Regions from separate parts of the Homo sapiens genome. Here region 2 is linked to region 1. The links are contacts of gene promoters, found by promoter capture Hi-C in blood cells and fetal thymus (Javierre and others, 2016). All regions are on one chromosome and are shown on one strand. The core of a region is centred on a gene start or on the middle of the fragment in contact, and the rest is flanking DNA. Distances in the headings are between cores, read along the strand shown.

Region 1 (3,472 bases), core at 900-3,399:
TTGCTAGTTAAGGATTCGTCTGTAAGCCAGTCTGGGTGGTCACAGGTGATGGGAACCCTTCCCTTTCCCCATATATCCCCGTGCATGGCGATAAAAATCACTCTGAACACTGCTACCACCAAGCAAAACGACTCCCTGCCTGCCTCGTAAAGAGCTCAGTCTGCGGAGGCAGCCGGATGCTGACCCCTGCAGAGAGTCTTGCTTCGGTGCGCTTTGCCAAATGACCCTGCTAGCATTATGGAAAACGAGTTACGGACGTGTGAGGTTTTGCTTCATTTCCTCCAAAAGAAGAACTGGGATCTGGCAAAGAATATCTTCTTCAAACACTGCTAAAGGGGGATGGGGTGGAGGAAGGGAAAAAGTGTGTGAGGGGGAGGGAGCTTATTTTTTAATTACTTATTTTCCATTTTCACTTCCCCGCTCTGCTTCCCAAACTCCTCGCTGAACAAGATTGATTGGTGTAACTGCTAACGACTCAGCCTCGGTTCTCGCATTGATTTGCAAATGGCCCGGAAAAGCTTAAGGATCTTGAATCTGGAAATGAGTTCAAGAAGGAAAGAAGAAAAAAGAGTAGGGGTGGCCCCACGCCTAGTATCTCCTTCTGCCTTGGGCCAGGGCAGGGCTGAAAACAGCCCGGCGAGCTGCGGAGGGGCTGCTGCGTGGGGAAGCGGAGGTTACCGCTCTGCACCGCGGAGGAGCAAGCCTGTTAACGCGGTGTGGAGGCTGTTAAGAAATACAACCCTGCGACTCGTTAAACCCCTTAACTCTGCCCTGCCTTGACTCGGATGCGCCGATTATTCGGCCTGATAGGCTCAAATGGGTTAAACTGCCTCTTACATAACTGGACCGCCTGGGCTCTACACAATTAAAACACTTGATTGCAGTCTTTTCCCGACTCTACATCCCAGCATGACCCGCCCCGTCCCTCCCAGCGCGCCTGCGTGCCGCGCGTGCACAGGCCCCCGCGCGCACGACACGCTCTCTATCACACACACACTCCATGTTGACCATAAACAATCCCCTACTCACACACACAACTTAGTGTCAACACCCACAGATAAAAGAGGGGCGTCCTGCAATCCATACGGGCCGACCGCCACAAACACGCAAGCTGCTCTGCCGCAAGGCCTTGCACCTCCTCGTGTCCCCGCAAAAAAGCAGCGCCCCGCCACCGTCCCTACCTATTCCCGAGAAAACGCAGAGAGAACTAGTTGGCTGCTCGCTAACTGCAGCGTAGCCACCCAGGCAAGATTAGAAGAAAATAAACAAAAAAACAACTCACAGTCGCCGGCGTCATGATGGCGCCGACCACAACTTGGAGGACTTCAAACTTACGGTGCCTCGAGAGGTAAAACGCACCGGTGAGGGAAGGCAAAGCGCCCCTCAGCTCTCTTCACCCCAGCCCTGACACGGAGACTTTTCTAGCAAAGAATCCCTCTAGCGCTTACGACAGTAAGGAGAGCCTTCATTCTAAGGTGCCTCTCTTTCCCCCTTAGTTTGCATAATTGTGATACAGTTCCTCCTATTTTTTTTTTCGTTGTCTTGCTTTTCTTTTTTTTTTCTTGCTATCTTTTTTCTTTCTTTTTTTATTATTTTTTTAATCCCCCTCCCTTCTCCATCCCCAGTCCCCTGGCGGGGTTGCTAAGGAAACGGCCGCTTGGCAACGCGCGCGAGCCCGGGAGCCGGCGGCCGGCGCAGCGCTCCGCGCTGCTTCTGCTGCTGCTGTTGCTGTTGCTGCTGCTGCTGCTGGGATTGCAGCCGCCGCCGCCGCCGCTCGCCCTGCCTCCTCCCCCGCCGCCGCGCCTCCTCCCTCACTCGCCGGCGCGCTCGCCTCCTCGCTAGATGGTGTGCGAGCCGCCCGAGAATTAGACACACTCCGGACGCGGCCAAAAGCAACCGAGAGGAGGTGTAGTGTGGTGCCAGGGGGAGGGAGGGGAGGGAGGGAGGGAAAGCGAAGAGGAGGAGGGGAGGCAAAAACACCGAAAAACAAAAAGAGAGAAACAACACCCAACAACTGGGGTGGGGGGAAGAAAGAAAGAAAAGAAACCCACCCACCCACCAAAAAAAAAAAAAAAAAAAAAAAAAAAAAAAAATCCTGTGGCGCGCCGCCTGGTTCCCGGGAAGACTCGCCAGCACCAGGGGGTGGGGGAGTGCGAGCTGAAAGCTGCTGGAGAGTGAGCAGCCCTAGCAGGGATGGACATGATGCTGTTGGTGCAGGGTGCTTGTTGCTCGAACCAGTGGCTGGCGGCGGTGCTCCTCAGCCTGTGCTGCCTGCTACCCTCCTGCCTCCCGGCTGGACAGAGTGTGGACTTCCCCTGGGCGGCCGTGGACAACATGATGGTCAGAAAAGGGGACACGGCGGTGCTTAGGTAGGAAGAACGGCGTGCTTTTCGTACTTGTTTCGGTCTATCTTTCTGTCTCTCTTTGAACCCTCTTTGCCTTCTTTATAACACAAGCAATAATGCTGGTGGTGCTCATCATGGAAAGACCACATCCCAAGAATTCCAGGTGCAGATTCTTCCCGGAGCCCCGGCCCGTTTATGCTGGGGCAGGTAGCAAGCTGGACTCGTGATGCTAAAGCACTTTGCCGGAACGCCAAGTAGCCTGGGGATGAGTGAACTGTCAGGTTTAGAAGGAGGGGCAGGTGCCACTTTGAAACTCAATGCACAAGGTCTCTGTTTTACTGTCATGGGGTACTCCTGGAGAGTCTGACAAGTTTATCAGGTTTGTTTCTATTTTACTCCAGCATAAGCGACTCTTTCAAACTGCTGTTCTCTGCTCCCATTTATTTTCCCTCTCACTTGGACACTTAGGCTCGATTTCTTGCTCTTTATCTTTCTTTCCTTTTACCGCTTTCTGTTTTCTTTCTTTTCTCCTTCCTCATTCTCTTATACCATTTTCCCCACCTCCTTGTAACTCTTTTTCCCTCCAATATCTCTTTTCATACCTTTTCTATTTTCTGTTTTTTCCCTCCTTTTTAAAATTTCTTCTCATATTTTCTCATTTTTATCTCCACGACTCTAATTTCTGTTCCTCACATTTAATCCCCTTTCCTCCTCTCTTTTACCCTTTTTTCTTTTTGTCTATTTTTTTTATTCCTCCTTAATGTCCCTATCCTGTGCCCTGTCTTCCCTCTTTTGACTCCCATTTCTCATCCCTCTCCCCATACCGTTTCCCACCCCTGTGGCACACACAGGCATGGTCACTGTTCCCCTCCAGTACCATTTACTCACCCTCATAAATCTTATTTCCATAAACATACTAACTCACATACTCTCACATCCTCACATGCACTGGCACTTCCATGCTGTAAGAACCACTTCCACATTCAGATTGTCTCTCACTGTTTTTAAAAGGCATACTCTCCTTCTCTGTTCCACATTGTCACTCACACATGTGTACACACTGCCTGTCTCACTCGCTGCTCTCACTCTGTCTCTGCTTCTCTCTTTTTCTCTTTCTGTGTCTTTCT
Region 2 (3,118 bases), core at 71-2,570, 2.4 Mb before region 1:
CTTCTAAACAACAGAGATTTATTCCTAACAGTTCTGGAAGCTGGGAAATACGAGATCAAGGGTCCGACAGATTCAGTGTCTGGCAAGGATGTGCTTTCTGGTTCATGGATGGTGCCTTCTCATTGTGTCCTCACATGGTGGAAGGGCAGAGCTAGCTCTCTGGGTACTCATGACCTAATCACCTCCCAAAGACCCCACCTCCTAGTACCATCACCTTGGCGCTAGGTGCTTGTACCTGTAAATTTGGGGGGCATGCAAACATTCAGACTGTATCAATCATTTTCCCTCATTTCAATTTTCCCTGCTCTTTGACCTCATTCAGTCCCTCTCTTCATTTGATCTTTCATTGCCAATCTCAGTCCAAAGGCCCTAAGCAGCTCTCACATCCCACCAAGCTTAAGTTGGTCACTAAAGTACCCTCAATTATCTTGAATCACCATCCTTCTTCAAAAGTCACTCATTGAAACCTAGCCCTGGATGGAACTTGTAATCTACCTTCAACTTCCAGCTTTTTCACTACTTCGTATATTGTAGATGTAGCCAATCATAAGGAGCAGGTGCTGTTCTGCCTCCCCCTCCAATTTGCCCTTCAAACCCAGCACTCTCCTGCCTCTAGTTCTGCTCATGCCATTTATTTCCATTTATTACCTTTTCTCTGAGTAAATTTGAAAATTAATCATTTGATTAGTTTTAGGATGATCTGTGTATGTCTTTGTGTGCAGTATTTAGAAGATGAGATAGGCATCTTTCCCCTTGGAAGGTTAGTGAAATGTGGGAGCAGCTATTCATCAGATGTCACTCCAGTCATGATGGAAAGGGAATTGCTATAAACCTCACAATAGACAAAAAGATGGACTAGGTAAAACTCGTGCAGTTGCTTATCAGGAGGAATGAATATTTTCATTTTAATTTTAACTTTTTTTGCCCTAGAATTTAAGCAACTTGAGATGATGGATAAGACCTAGCATACCCCAGGCACTCAAGTTTGATGAGTGAAAGATTATAACAGGCCAGGTTTTCCTACCTGTACAATTTTCTCTCTCAGGATTAATATGTCACTGATCATTAGAGAAATCCAAAGCAAAACCACAATGAGATACCATCTCACACCAGTCAGAGGCTGACACGGGTGGATAACATGAGATCAGGAGTTCAAGACCAGCCTGGTCAACATGGTGAAACCCCGTCTCCACTAAAAATACAAAAAATTTGCTGGGCGTGGTGGCGGATGCCTGTAATCCCAGCTACTCAGGAGGCTGAGGCAGGAGAATCGCATGAACCCGAGAGGTGGAGGTTGCAGTGAGTCAAGATCACACCACTGCACTCTAGTCTGGCAACAGAGCAAGACTCCTTCCCCCACCCCCCCCCCCAAAAAAAAAGTCAAAAGATAACAGATGCTGGTGAGGTTGTGGAGAAAGGGAATGCTTATACAGTGTTGGTGGGAGTGTAGATCAGTTCAACCTTTGTGGAAGACAGTATGGTGATTCCTCAAAGACCTAAAGATAGAAATATCATTTGACCCAGCAATCCCATTACTGGGTATATACCTAAAGGAATATAAATCATTCCATTATAGACACATGCACACATATGTTTACTGCAGCACTATTCACAATAAGCAAAGATGTGGAATCAACCTAAATGCTCATCAATGATAGAATGGATAAAGAAAATGTGGTACATATACACCACAGAATACTGTGCATCTATAAAAAAGAATGAGATCATGTCCTTTGCAGGGACATGGATGGAGCTGGAGGCCATTATCCTTAGCAAACTAACATAAGATCAGAAAACCAAATACCACACGTTCTCCCTTATAAGTGGGAGTTAATAATAAGAACACATGGACACAGAGGGGAACAACACACACTGGGGCTTGTCAGAGTATGGAGGGTGGGAGGAGGGAGAGGGTCAGAAAAAATAATGGGAACTAGGCTCAATACCTGGGCAATGAAATAATCTGTACAACAAACCTGTAGGACATAAGTTTACCTATGTAACAAACCTGCACATATACCCCTGAACTTTAAATAAAAGTTAATATATTTGTGTATGTATGTGTGTGTATATATATACATACATATGTATGTATACACATTTAATCTGAAATTTAAATTGTATCACAGAAGAACACACAGAGGTGTATATATACATGTTTGTACATTAACTGTAAAGTAGAAATTTGACATTTGACATTTGGATCAAGTATGAAAAAGCTGGTTTTATGTGCAATCAAAGCTTAGCTCTGGGCACCTGCCATCTTACTTCAAAGTAAAGCTTATTTTTGATTATTCAGAGAAAAAAAGGAATTAAAAAATAAGTAAAACCAATCTATTAAAAATTATTTTTGTTTATTATTTTATTTAGGTGAAACAAGAATCTACTTCTTTTACCCTTTTTCAATTTTTTACCTTTAAAACTTTTAACAGCCTAACTCACATTCTAAATACTGAAAGTGCATAACATAGGTCAGTGTTAATTTTTTAAATGTCAATTCAACTTAGTAGAAAAAAGCAATTGATGTGTTTCAGTAATAACTTCCACTTGTTTTAACTTGTTATGTTAGCACTTGCAATTCTGTTTAATTGGCATGTAATTTAATTGCCACATAAGTTATTTAATTATATACTACAAATGGGAAAAGTTGTTTATAGGCAATCATATCTCTTTTGTTAAAATCTGGAATACTAGATGTTCGTCAGTCTTGTGCTTATAGGTAATTCCTTCATGCTGATTATTTGCATTGCCTGATTGAGTTATATCACATATTAACTCATTCTGTCATTGTTTCTAGAGGGGTGTATATTTATATTTTAGTAACAAATTCAGACAGTTAAATTTCAATCTACTTTATTATTAAAGACAAAGGCACTAAGACCTGTGTTTCTCTCTTCATGGAAATTACAATATCACAATAATTCACAGATGTTATTTCTTCAGGCCAGGATGCCTTACTCTCTCTCCTTTCTTTGCCTAATTTCAGTATATTACTTTTGAAGGTTTACCGTAGGTGTTACTTTTACTTAGAAGGCTTTTCTGACCTCACTAATGATCAGGTGGCTTTTCTCTGTGTTCCTTTCAGTACCGTAACAATATAGGATGAGACAGAACTAGG

What was found. The method cuts DNA at HindIII sites, captures the fragments that hold promoters and counts their contacts. A CHiCAGO score of 5 or more calls a contact.
Region 2: a contact is called between a fragment that was not itself captured here and the fragment with the promoter of NEGR1 in region 1, in 1 of 17 cell types (naive B cells). The highest score is 6.4, in naive B cells.

What each region holds. Positions count from the first base shown.
Region 1 is chr1:72,281,216-72,284,687 of GRCh38, reverse strand. It overlaps NEGR1 (neuronal growth regulator 1), which reads left to right and starts at 2,149. Exons shown (of 7, transcript NM_173808.3): 1 at 2,149-2,369. The coding sequence starts at 2,194. LOC105378797 (a long non-coding RNA gene) reads right to left here and starts at 1,754. Exons shown (of 6, transcript XR_947506.3): 1 at 1,283-1,754. RefSeq lists an enhancer at 1-331 and silencers at 1,713-1,802, 1,903-1,962. The HindIII fragment of the contact is 3,164 bases long and covers 521-3,472 here.
Region 2 is chr1:74,694,146-74,697,263 of GRCh38, reverse strand. No RefSeq gene overlaps it. Among named protein-coding and RNA genes, the nearest start is that of ERICH3, 22 kb to the right of the region's middle. The HindIII fragment of the contact is 1,846 bases long and covers 398-2,243 here.